Linked DNA regions of Homo sapiens: region 1 is linked to region 2. The links are contacts of gene promoters, found by promoter capture Hi-C in human tissues and cell types (Jung and others, 2019). All regions are on one chromosome and are shown on one strand. Each heading gives the region's core, a stretch centred on a gene start or on the middle of the fragment in contact. The rest is flanking DNA. Distances are from core to core; before and after follow the strand shown. Region 1 holds the start of KRT17 (keratin 17). Region 2 overlaps LOC124904002 (a long non-coding RNA gene).

What was found. The method cuts DNA at HindIII sites, captures the fragments that hold promoters and counts their contacts. A contact is called where the count stands out against the background at its distance.
Region 1: the fragment with the promoter of KRT17 here is called in contact with a fragment that was not itself captured in region 2 in 2 of the 25 tissues and cell types used here (H1 embryonic stem cells and mesenchymal stem cells).

What each region holds. Positions count from the first base shown.
Region 1 is chr17:41,623,182-41,629,385 of GRCh38, reverse strand. It overlaps KRT17 (keratin 17), which reads left to right and starts at 4,811. Exons shown (of 8, transcript NM_000422.3): 1 at 4,811-5,308. The coding sequence starts at 4,877. It also overlaps the pseudogene KRT42P. The HindIII fragment of the contact is 8,196 bases long and covers 451-6,204 here.
Region 2 is chr17:41,109,342-41,115,760 of GRCh38, reverse strand. It overlaps LOC124904002 (a long non-coding RNA gene), which reads right to left. Exons shown (of 2, transcript XR_007065754.1): 2 at 3,091-5,757. Among named protein-coding and RNA genes, the nearest start is that of KRTAP4-11, 5.8 kb to the left of the region's middle. The HindIII fragment of the contact is 6,500 bases long and covers 1-6,307 here.

The DNA of each region.
Region 1 (6,204 bases), core at 3,562-6,061, 510 kb before region 2:
CACCTCCACCTTCAGGGTGAGGAGCTGTTGGCCTATCTGTGTCTGTCTGTCTGTCATCTGTACCTGTCTCTCCGAGGGAAAGAAGGCAGGCCCCAGGGTCTTTCTCCAGGATGGCCTTGGGTGAGCTTCTGCTGTCCTCTCTGCCCAGGAAATGAACGTCCTTTGAGGTCAGGTGGATGAGGATGTCAGTGTGAAGATGGACACTGTGCCTGGAGTGAACCTGAGCTGCATCCTGAATGAGATGCGTGACCAGGACAAGACATTGGTGGAGAAGAGCTGCAAGGATGCCGAGGGCTGGTTCTTCAGCATGGTGGGTGGCCGTGCGTAAGCAGGTGTGTACACGTGTGGGCACATGTGCTGCATGCTGGTGCAGCTGGAGCACTGGCAGATCCACAGGCTGTCCCAGTTGGAAGGACTTTTGGAAACCAGTTGGACCAGCCCCTCATGTTTTAGATGTAAAACGTGAGGCTCAGAGAGGACTCAAGCTCACACAGCCCTTCACTGTGGCCTGCAAAATAGATCCAGGTCTCTACAAGTCTGGTCTTGGGTTTCCACCACAGCTGTTTACAGGATGTGCGTATTTGAATACATATGTATACCCTTGGCAAGCACAGGCTGAGTATCTCCGGTATCCTAGGGACAGCAACAGGCGCAAAAGAATAACACCCAGTGCCTGTCTTTGAGGTGCTGCAGTTCAGTAGGAAAAAGAAATGCAAATGACCGCAGAGCAGGCTGAATTCCTCCAAGTTCCAATGTGGGTGCAGAGGCTCTCTGTGTGCAGGTGCCTTTGGGGCCCCATAGAGGCCAGGGAGGGGCTAGGGGATGGTTCTGGGAGGTGAGGGTTCAGGAGCAGCCCTTTCCTGTGCCCCGCTTCTGAAAGTCTCCATAAACCCCTGTGGCCCACTCTGCCTTCCAGAAAGAGGGGCTGAACTGCGAGGTGGCCACCAACACAGAGGCCCTGCAGAGTGGCTGGATAGAGATATGGAGCTCTACGTCTCTGTGCAGAACCTGAGCCGTCCCAGCTCAGCAAGGTAGGGTCTCTGTCCCCTCCCCACCCTGTACCTGTCACCCCAGGGTGAGCCCAGCCTTGTAGACCCCTGCTTGGGGAACCAGAGTCCCCACCCAGCCTGTCCCTTCACACTCAGTGGCTGGGTGCACTACCACCTCATTGTGCTGGCAGCACCCACAGCCCCATACAGGAGGGGCTCCTCTCTAGTGCTCTGCCATGGGGAAGGGTCCCAGGTCCAGCTCATCACACCACCTATCTCTTGGCCCACAGAAAGCATCGCTGGAGGGCAGCCTGGTGGAGATGGAGGTGTGTTACAGGACCCTGCCGGCCCAGCTGCAGGGGCTTAACAGAAGCATGGAGCAGCAGCTGTGCGAGCTCTGCTGCGACACGGAGCACCAGGACCACAAGCACAGGTCCTTCTGGACGTGAAGACGTGGCTGGAGCAGGAGATCGCCACCTACCGCCGCTTGCTGGAGGTTGAGGACGCCCAGTGAGTGTGTACCAGGGTGCCTGTTGGGGTGGGCTGGGGGCCCGCTTCACCCAGGGAGAAGTTGGTGTCTGAGCACCAGCGAAATTCAGGAGGTGTGAATGTCGGAACCTGTTGGGGTTTGCAGGAGGTGATACTGACGATGCAGGCTGGAGTCTGGCTGAGGAGCCTTGAATGCCAAGTTAAAGCGTCTGGACTAGATCACGTAGGCAATGGGGAGCCATGGAGGGATTTGGAGCAGGAGAGTGAAATGAACATCAAGAGATTTTAGAACATTCACTCTGGCTGCAGAGGGAGAAATGGATCAGAGGGGTCAGGGCGGGGCCAGAGAGATGTGTCAGGGGGCTGGAGCAGGGAGTCTGGCCAGAGAAGTCCCGTGCGGTGGTGGGTAGTGGGGCAGGGGAAGGAAGGTGGTGCACGCAGAAGAGAGGTTATAGCTCAAAACAGCGGGACTGGATGCCTGGATCTCGGGGTAAGCATGGCTCACAGTCAGGACTCAGTAAGTGTCGGGAGAACACATGAAGGAGCAGGCATTGATGGCCCTGGGTTTCTGGTTCTGATGACTGTGTGAGTGGTGAAGAGCAAGGTGGGTGGTGGTTGGGTTTGCAGTTGGGAAGGGTGATCAGGCCTTCAGCTGAGAGTGTCCCGGAGTCTCCATGCTTAGTCACACGTTGCAGCTTTTTGCTCCCCGGAAATGGTGAAGTCCATCTATAGTCTAACAACAGTCTCTCCTGCTTTAATTGGGTCTATTTGTTGGGCCCTCTGGGTTATGGAAAAACCACTTGCTCAGCTTCTCCTTGTAAATTCCTGGTGAGTAGCCACAGAGTGCCGCCAGACCTACTGCTGTGCTGTTTCTTTTTCTTCTTCCTGCTGTGCTGAACCCCTGCCCTTTCATTCTTGGGCCTGCGCTAATTTCTGTGCATTCCCAACTGTGATTTTTCACCAATTTAGGGGAACCTCCTCTGCCAGGGCCTACTTCTCCCCAGCAGTGCTTGCAGGTGCCTGGGCTGGCTGGCATCCCTGGGCTGATGGGTGCTTCTCTCCCTGCAGGCTGGCCACTCAGTACTCCTTGTCCCTGGCCTCGCAGCCCACCCGGGAAGGTAAGAAGCTGCCCTGTCCTGCGGTGTGGACCCCAAGGCAGGGGAGAGGCTGAGGACCCTTCTGTGTGGGAGACTGGGGGGACCACAGACGCGGGGGCAGGCGGGGGGAAGAGCTCCTGCCTGATGTTCCCTGTGCCTCCCTCCTCCATCGCCTGCAGCCACAGTGACCAGCCACCAGGTGTGCCATCGTGGAGGAAGTCCAGGTTGGAGAGGTGGTCTTCTTCTGTGAGCAGGTCCACTTCTCCACCCACTGAGACCCCTTTCTGTCTGCGACAGCCCCACCTCGAGGGCCACGGCACAGCCATCAGCTCCAGCTCCCAGCATGCTACTGCCACGCCCCGAGTGTCCGTCTGGGCCCCGGTGCATGGCCTGTTGTCTTTCTGTATCTACTTTCTGCAGCCCCTCACTGAGGAGGCCTCCTGGGTTTGTCCAGTGCCTACTATTAAAGCTTTGCTCCAAGTTCAATGCCTCGTGTGATCTGATCTGCTCATTGGTTTGGGGCAGTGTGGGCTGAGGGACTGGGGGAGGTGGAGTTTATTGAGTGTTTGGGTATGGGCTTGTCACCTGCCAATCTGTTCTGCCCACTCCATCCAGGCCTGGGGCTCCTGGAAAGATGAGAGGGGAGGAGGCGGAAAGATTAAGGGTGGAGGGATGGGACAGCCCCTTGTATTGGGAAAAGTTTCTAAGAATCAGCCCCTGAGTCCCTGTCACCTGTGGCTGGTCCCTGGGAGGGCCACACAGACTTTCCAAGGATGGTGCCTGTTGGGGAGCACTCCCTGCCTCAGCCCAGGGCGGGTTCAAGAGCAGAAGGAGAGGGGCTTGGTGGGGAGGGGCTTCTGAAGGAGTGGTCCATGGCATTGATGAGTGAGAGGGCATGGCAGTGACGCAGCCAGCCCAGGAAACCAGACCGGCTCTGCCCCAGCTCGGGGTGTGTGTGGGGCGGGGTGGCCGCTGTGCGTGTACGCGTAGGGGGCATCCTGTTTGCTTTGGTGGCTTGGCAGCCACTGGGCTATTGAGGAATGTCTCTCGGCTGCTGGCGGGGCCGTCTGGGCCTGTCTGGGAAGTGGAAGCCATCGGCAGTCTGAAACATGACCACATTCCACCCAGCGGGCCTGGCGGGACCCTGGGACCCAGGGCCGGGCTTGGGGTGGTGGGCAGGGCAGGGTGGGGCTGTGGGGTGGGGCACATGGCCCACCTGAGGAGCCACATCTTGGGGAGCCTGGAGTGGGAAGGGGGCTGGCTGGGGTCTCTGTAAGAGCCTCTTCTTGGGCAATGTCCTTTAGGTTTCCTGTGGGCTGAGACCTGAGATAAATACCCGTCACCTGACCCTGAGGTCTCTTGGGGTACAGAAGGGTGAGGGGAGTGGAAGGGGGCATCCCCCTCTCAGTTGGCACAGCCCACCATTTCCCCATCCTATAGCTGAGCCCCTGTTTGCCCACCCCAGCCTGGAGTGTAAACCTGGGGAAAGGTTTACACGAAGAGACTGGGTTAGCAAGGATTTCTAGGGATGGGGCAGGGTCAGAAGCTGACTGGATGGAACTGTAGCCCCTAGAGTGCATTCCTGGGTGTCAGGCTCTGCAGAAGGGGCCAGTGTGGACACGGCACCCCTCTGGAGCCCCAATTTCTTTATCTGTGATGTGGGTTGGTCTCCGAGGCTTGATGGCATTTCTATGCTGTGAGGTGGGCCTGGTGGGTTTGGGCTCAGTTTCCAAGGCAGGATAGGCTCTCGGTCTCCTCTTTCTCTTCAGCACCCAGCCCCGGGGCCAGCACCGTGGGTGGAGCAGTGTGGGGTGAAAGACAGCAACTTTGGCGGGGGGGTCAGCTGACACTGCAACCCATTTCCCCACCAGACAGGGTTGAGGCGGGCCAGGCTGGGGTGGTGGCTGCCTGGGAGGGCCTGGGGACGGTGACGTCCTGCCTTCTCCTCTTCTCCGTATTAGGTCATGGGAAAGCATAGCTGGAGGGCCCGCCTGAATCACAGGTGACGGGCCTGAGACCAGAGGCACGCACACGCACGGCACTCAGCACGAGGATTTGGAGAAATGAGGCAAATTCCTGATGATGGGCGGGGAGGGGGCCCCCAGCCACCTGGGAGCTGGCAGGTGGCCAGTGGTGATGAAAGCCCAGGGGAATGGAAACAGAGGAGCAAGCCTGTTGTAATCGCTACGCCCACTTGGTGGCCTATAAAGGAAGCGGGCGAACCCCGGCAGCCCTACACAACTTGGGGCCCCTCTCCTCTCCAGCCCTTCTCCTGTGTGCCTGCCTCCTGCCGCCGCCACCATGACCACCTCCATCCGCCAGTTCACCTCCTCCAGCTCCATCAAGGGCTCCTCCGGCCTGGGGGGCGGCTCGTCCCGCACCTCCTGCCGGCTGTCTGGCGGCCTGGGTGCCGGCTCCTGCAGGCTGGGATCTGCTGGCGGCCTGGGCAGCACCCTCGGGGGTAGCAGCTACTCCAGCTGCTACAGCTTTGGCTCTGGTGGTGGCTATGGCAGCAGCTTTGGGGGTGTTGATGGGCTGCTGGCTGGAGGTGAGAAGGCCACCATGCAGAACCTCAATGACCGCCTGGCCTCCTACCTGGACAAGGTGCGTGCCCTGGAGGAGGCCAACACTGAGCTGGAGGTGAAGATCCGTGACTGGTACCAGAGGCAGGCCCCGGGGCCCGCCCGTGACTACAGCCAGTACTACAGGACAATTGAGGAGCTGCAGAACAAGGTAGGGCCTGCTGGTGGGAGGGGTCTCCGGGGGGCATGACTTCTTCCCCCCAACTCCTGCCTTGGCCAAAGGCCTGGAGTCCAGCCATAGGGTCTCAGGGAGCCAAGGGTGGTTTGGCTGTGGCTTAGCTTCTGGGAACCTGCCTTGGGGCCCCTGTGTGGCTCACATCCCCCTTTTCTGGGGACAGCAAGCTGAGTCAGGAACAAAGAGGCCTTGTGGAGCCCCTTGGAGCCTCAGTTTCTCCCTCGTGGAGCTCCGCCACCTGGAGAGGTTGTAGGATGAGGCAGGAGGATGCAGATGGAGGGCTGGGCCCGTGGGCTGCTGGATGTGTGGTGTCTTGCTCCTTTGGAGCAGGGGTCAACAGGAGGGGGTTTTGGGTGATGTGGAGTGGGGGTGTCTGAGTGAGCTCCTGATAGCACCTGCTGCAGGAGGAGGCAGAAAGGAGGGGGCGGGACCTCAGTGTGGGGAAGGCCTCTGATGTGCCTTATTTGGGGATTTTTCTGGCTTCTCCTTTCCTCCTGCTGTCCCTTAAGACGGGCTCAGCAAACCCCAGGGGGCGGGGCTGCTGGCTGGCGCCCAGGGTTAGGGATTAGGAGGGGTCCTGACTTTTGATTTGGAACCACTCTTTAATGAGGGCTCCTTTAGCCTCCTTTTGGGGGAGCCTGTCAGGGGCACCCTCTAGCTGACTGTAAAACGAGGGGGTTGCCCACATCCCCTCCCTTGTTCTAGAATTCTGGGACAGCTTCTGCCCTGGGGACATTTTCCCATTCTTTTCTGGTTGCCTCATACTCCCAGCCAGCTGTCTCTTCTCCTTTAAGGCCGAGCCTGCCATGGGGGTCTGGTGGGGTACTGAGTATCGGGGGAAGAAGAGGCACCTTTCAGCCCTTCAGACTCCT
Region 2 (6,419 bases), core at 1,808-4,307:
CCTTTCCAAAGGAGGCAATCAGATATGCATTTAACTCAGTGAGCAGAGGGGTGACTGTGAATAGAATGGGAGGCAGGTTTGCCCTAAGCAGTTCCCAGCTTGACTTTCCCCTTTACCTTAGTGATTTCAGGGCCCCAAGGTTTATTTTCCTTTCAAATTTCCCCCCTTTTCTTAAAAATCTTTTTGAGAAAGCCTTTTTGAAGAAAGTCAGTCTTTGGTCTCAAGTTTCATCTGATATCTCATGGCTAGGATTGTTTATTCCTAGAAAGATAATTCCTGAGTTATTAGGAAAGTTCATTTTTAGCAGGTTGTGAAGTTTCATGTCCTATGAAGAGAAAATAGGGGGAGGAAGGGAGAAAAACAAAAATAAACAAAAGAACAATCCTGGAAAATCAATATGGGCCACATTACTCTGAAGTCCATACATCAGTAGGCAGGTATGAAAGTGGCTTATGTATGTAAACAGGTTGCTGGTATTTTCTTCTGAAGTTTAAATTCTCTAGCTCCAGTTCGCAGGGCTTTACAAAAGCACAGATGAGTTTTCAGTGACTCCAAATTAGGAAAAATGGGGGAAAGAAGAAGAAAAAAAAACTGAAAACAATCTTTTGAAGACCTGTAGCCAAGAAAAATTAGAATTCAGTGGAAACTGTAGAAAATAATAAAAATGGGAAAACATTAGGCAAGACTAGAATCTAACAACAGGTGTATTATCATTTTTTGAAACATAATTCTTCTCTCTCCCATTTCCCATTTTTACTAAAGACAAATCATGGCAGGGCTGATTTTCTTTATTATACTTGACCTGATTATTTGTATACAGCGCAGCCATAGTAATACTTTTTTTTTGCATAAGCTTTTAAATTGCCTTTGATGGAACTGAAGCAGGATGTTTCCCTGACCCCTTTGTGGGACTTGTGACGGGTGCCTCGTTTATTCAGCCTGCCACTCTCAACTCCTTGCAGGAGCGAGCATGCAAGCAAATGAGGCAGGAACTGGAGTGCACGTGTGCTGGAATCGGCACTGCAGCACGGTAGGATCAAACTTCACTCACTGGGACCTGCTGCAGTCCCCTGCTTGTGGGAGGAAGCATGCAGGTGAATCAGTGCAGGAGCCAAAGTGAGTGCTTTTGGCCACCGGCAGGAGCAAACTCTGTGTGGGCCCCACAGCAGCATCTAGGTGGGGGTGCCTGCGACCCCCATAGCCCCAGAGGGCATGTTACAGTGTTCTTTTAACTCTGCCTTCCATGGATGGCTTAAGTGTCAACAGCTCAGTGAGGCCTCTGCCTTTTTGTGTGAGGCAGCTGCCCTCCACCAGCAAGGGCAGAGGGCCAGTGTGACAGTCTTTTGTATCTGCTCTCCTGGCTCCCAAGCTCTTGTCTTGTGTCCAGGAAAAGTGAGGTCACATGAACCAATCAAAGGATGGTAAATGTGGGGGATTTTGTTGCTGATGAAAGTGGCTCTTAGCAGAAAGCGGAGCTGAAAAAGGATGGGGTGGGTAGGTAATCTTCCTCAAAGTTAGGCTGTATCCAGCTGGATTCTTCTCCAAGATTACACCATCAAGCTGTCCCTCTGAATCAAGCTGCTTCTCTCTGACGTCCAGCTGTAGTTCCCAATGTCCAGCTGCTTCTTGCCTCTGCCAGCTGAGTCTGGCATCTTCACAGGCATAGGATGGACAGGATGGAGCCATGAGTGGTTTAGAAAAAGGCAACTTTCAAGCAGGAAAACAGGGATATAAGTTCTCACTTTGGGCCGTGGTTTAAGGCTTTTCAGCTTGAAGGTGGGGTTTTGTCAGAGACCTACCCTTTTCTGCCTAGAATTTCTCAGCCCCCTGTCCCTATCAGAACTTTGTTCCATAGAAGGAATTTCGGATAAGACTTTTGGAAAGCTTAGCCTAGCCATGGATTTGTACCATCAAATACCTATGAGTTGCATGAATTCCTCTGCTCTTGAGGTTCCAAGATAAACTTGGGGCTCCTGGAACTGTTAGAAAGTGACATGCTTTACTTACCACAGGTCAGGAACCCTGTACAGGGACTGTGTAGATAAGGTATGAGGCCAGTTCTCCCAAGGGGCTTTTATTGGCTCCATAAGTCAAATTTGATTCCTTAAAGGAGAGCACACCATTCCAGTCAAAGCCTTGGTAAAATGACCAATTTCTCCAATTGTGTCTTGTTACACATGAAAACAGATTATTATTGCACTTATGCAAATAACTGTATTGCCATAAGTTAAGAATACTCACAGATAGTTTCCAATTCTGGGGAAAATCAGGTAGAGAGAAACAAATATGCTCCAAATATTTTTCACAGGAGTATACTAACTTGTTAAAAGCTGACAACAGCTCAAATAAAAGTTTCCTTGACTAAAAAAAGGAAAACAAGGAGCAGCAACATTTTAAGCAAAAAGTCAAAAAGATTACGTTGCTCTTCTATTAGTTCAGTTCATGCAGTTAATTCCTGTTCTGCTTGCTATTCATGAACATTTCAGGTCTCCATGAGTTCTGAAAGCTTTTCCTCCATTCTGATGTCACAGTCTCCAAAGTTATTAGAAACTTGCCTTCAAGAACACGTGTTAGAGTTTTATAGCTGATTATAAAACCATCTTCTAAAAAGGACTAAAACAAAACAATTGTCCATGGGTGACAAAAAGTTTTAGGTCAGCCATAATCAAAGACACAATTGACAAGAAAATTTGTTACCACTGTGGCACACGATAATTTTATATAACAATTATAATTATTAGTGATATTGTACACCATGTCATATCAGAATTATAGGAGTTTCCCATAATTTTGGTGCACATACCAATAACATTTTTATACAAATACAGCCCAAAGAAAACCAAACACCATTTTATATTTGACAATGCTTCCTGTATAATTTTTATACCAAATAAGTCATTTATTTCATTTTTGGACTTTAGGGAAACTAATATCTTAGAGGATTAATTAGGTCAGAAAAATACACAACTTGTAATTTGATTCTGGAAACTTTGCCAAATATCAAAAGTTTAAAATACTTGATAGGTCATCATAAAATAAGTCAATTTTTCAAACATTAAGCCCAAATAAAACAGCATAAAGCCAATTAAATTTGTTTTTTGAAATTTTATTATCAATCTTTAAAATTTTAATCTTGACCATAAGATACAGCTTCCATAAGCCTTTTTTAACCTTTATAACCTTTATTAAGGGGTCGGTTAACACTTCAAGAAAACCTTTTTAATCTGACGCAGGGGCCCGTATGCTGGTATTGCATCAGTGTGCCTTTGACATCAATTATTAACTTGCAGAGAAACTGAACTTATTTTGTCTCTCAAAATCAGCCCTTACAATCTCACATGCCTACCTCTTCTGTGGTAGTTCCTGAGCCTTGAGGAGTTGAATAGCTTTTACTTCTGGCCTTATGTCTCAGGAATGCAGTTTATTTTGATTGGCATCTTCTACCAGGCCTGAAGATGAGGTTTTAATTGCTGTCAGTGCTTAAGATTTAGCAGACCTTGGTGTCCTTTTTAGACCCAGGAGTCAAAGGCCTGTAACTTAATGTCACAGGTACTTTCAAAGCACCTACAGAAATATACATGGATGTAATAACCTTAATTTTAAAAAATTATCTCAGATACTTTTTCCTGAGCAAATCAAAAATTAATAATAACAGCATAGCATTGTTTCAATAAGCCATAAAATCTGTTAGGTCAATTACCCAAAGGCAAAAGAAAAGACCTTCTACACTGCACAGAATATTACTTTGGAAGAAAACATTTTCTTTAGACTTTTAGAAAACATTGTTAGCATCAGACCATAACAAATAGAATTTAAGGAAAATAACTTATATGAGCTGCAAACGAGTTGAAGGGGAGAGAAAACAGCGAGTAAACAGTTGAACTTTGGGTTAAAAAAATTAAAATCTCTTATAATTTAATAAGAGTAAATCAATCCCTTAAGAAAATTTCATCGCTCTAACTATTTTGTTTATCATTGCTTTTTTTTTTTTACATGAAGCCCAATCTTCAGGAAGACTATTATAATTTCCTTTTAATTACAGACAACTTGACCATATAAAAGTTTGTTGGTTTTTTTTTTAATCCTCTTATTATGACTTTTACAGACTGTTCATGATATGCTTGGACTTTCTGGTTTGTTTTGAACATCCATCTTTCTTAAACAATCATTTTATTTTAGGTCTAAATTTACCATACAAGATCTTTTCTCATATGAAATTATTTCTCTTTAAGCTTCCTTACCAAAAAGAACCCTCTTTATCCTCTTTATTTTTATACCTTTCTTTACATCTCTCTGATTTCCTGGTTCCTTTTAACTTGTCTTATACATAATCTTTAAATAAGCATTGAATTAGATGACAATTGTTCACCTTTTTAAAAAGGAATTGTTTACCTAGATTATTTATGAAAACTGCAATAGTCATCATTTAAAGTTATGGAACTGCCATTGCAAAATTATAACTGAGACAGTGAAAAAGATCTGACCTAATTGACTCCATCTTGCTTCTAACCTCCAAACTGTTCTTGTTCAATCCTGGGCACAGGCTGAACAGACGTTGAGAGGAACATAGTTTATAGTTTACCTTTGAAACAAAGATTATAACAGTTCATTCTCAAACTAAATCTTACTGCCTGTGGACTAGACCACCAAAACCACAAAATTAGAAGTTACAGTAATCTCACTAAATTCAAGATGTGACTATTTTTATTAAACCAATATCAATGTCTTATTTATTAAAGATTATACAAGCAAAGATCATTCTATTACAGTTTTGTAACTCCATGGCAAATTTTGACACCTTATGGTATTTGACAGGGATAAGCATGAAATTGCTTGATTAATAAATGCAAACAAAAATGCATGCTGGCAATTTTTAAGACATGTCTAATATTACTTTACCAATAATTTTAAAGCTAGCTTATTTATTAAAGATTTTACTTGTTACATAAACTTCAGAAAGCATTCAACTAGTCTTTTCTTTTTTCCTGATAAAGTATTAGATTCAAGTGCTTTTTATCTTAAGCCAATTAATTAGAACTCTTTTATATATTTTCAGTAGCGAGAAATTGTGTACACATCACATAAATATATAGACATAGTAGGCATGCTGATAGAAGTACATCGTATAGATACTTAAGGAGCTTTTTTCCCCTATCTTAGGCTTTCAAATTCTTAATAACCTGTTTTACTCCCCTAGGGAGTTGTCAGCTAAATAGCCTTAAGTTTGCATGTTAAAGGAAACAACTCAGGCAAAAATCAAATAGCAAAATTATATCATAAGGTACAGAGAGAAAAAGTCTGGTGGTGCTAGAGGGAAGTCAAAATGGATTTAATTGCCAATTAAACATAAAATTATAAAAATTATAAAGGCCTTTTAAATAGATACACACACACACACACACACACACACAAACACACACACAGAAATCCTATAGCTTTTACTTCAGAACTTTAGCCATGAGACAAATACAAATTCACCAGGTTGCAAACAAAAAGCCTGTTGTATCCAAACAGTGGTTTTGATCTTAATAGAAAAATAACAGCAGATTTAAAGCAGGCAGAAAAGAAAATAGAGAAAAAAGAGAACTTAGGAACTCTGTAGTTTGTAGGTTGACCTTAAGGCTCTTCTTTTCTTTCTTTTTCTTTTCTTTCTTTCTTTCTTTCTTTCTTTCTTTCTTTCTTTCTTTCTTTCTTTCTTTCTTTCTTGCTTGCTTGCTTTCTTGCTTGCTTGCTTTCTTTCCTTCTTTTCTTTCTCTTCTAAAAAAAAATGAAATACACATGCAGGAGAACGTGCAGGTTTGTTACATAGGTATATGTGTGCCTTGGTGGTTTGCTGCACCTATTGACCCATCCTCTAAATTCCCTCCTCTCATTCCCCACCCCCCAACAGCCCCTGATATGTGTTGCTCTCCTCTCTGTGTCCATGTGTTCTCAAAGTTCAACTCCCATATATGAGTGAGAACATGTTGTATTTGGTATTCTGTTTCTGTGTTAGTTTGCTGAGGATGATGGTTTCCAGCTTCATCCATGTCCCTACAAAGGACATGATCTCACTCCGTTTTATGGCTGCATCGTATTCCATGGTGTATATGTACCACATTTTCTTTATCAAGTCTATAATTGATGGGCGTTTGGGTTAGTTCCATGTCTTTGCTCTTGTAAATAGTGCTGCAATAAACATACATGTGCCTGTGTCTTTATAGTAGAATGATTTGTATTCCTTTGGGTATATAACAAGTAATGGGATTGCTGGATCAAATGGTATTTCTGATTCTAGATCCTTGAGGAATCACCATACTGTCTTCCACAATGGTTGAACTAATTTACATGGGCCCTTTCTTTCTTAATGTAAATATGCACAAAGACCATATTACTTCCATTTTACTTAAACTCTGGCAAGTACAGGTGCCATAAAACCT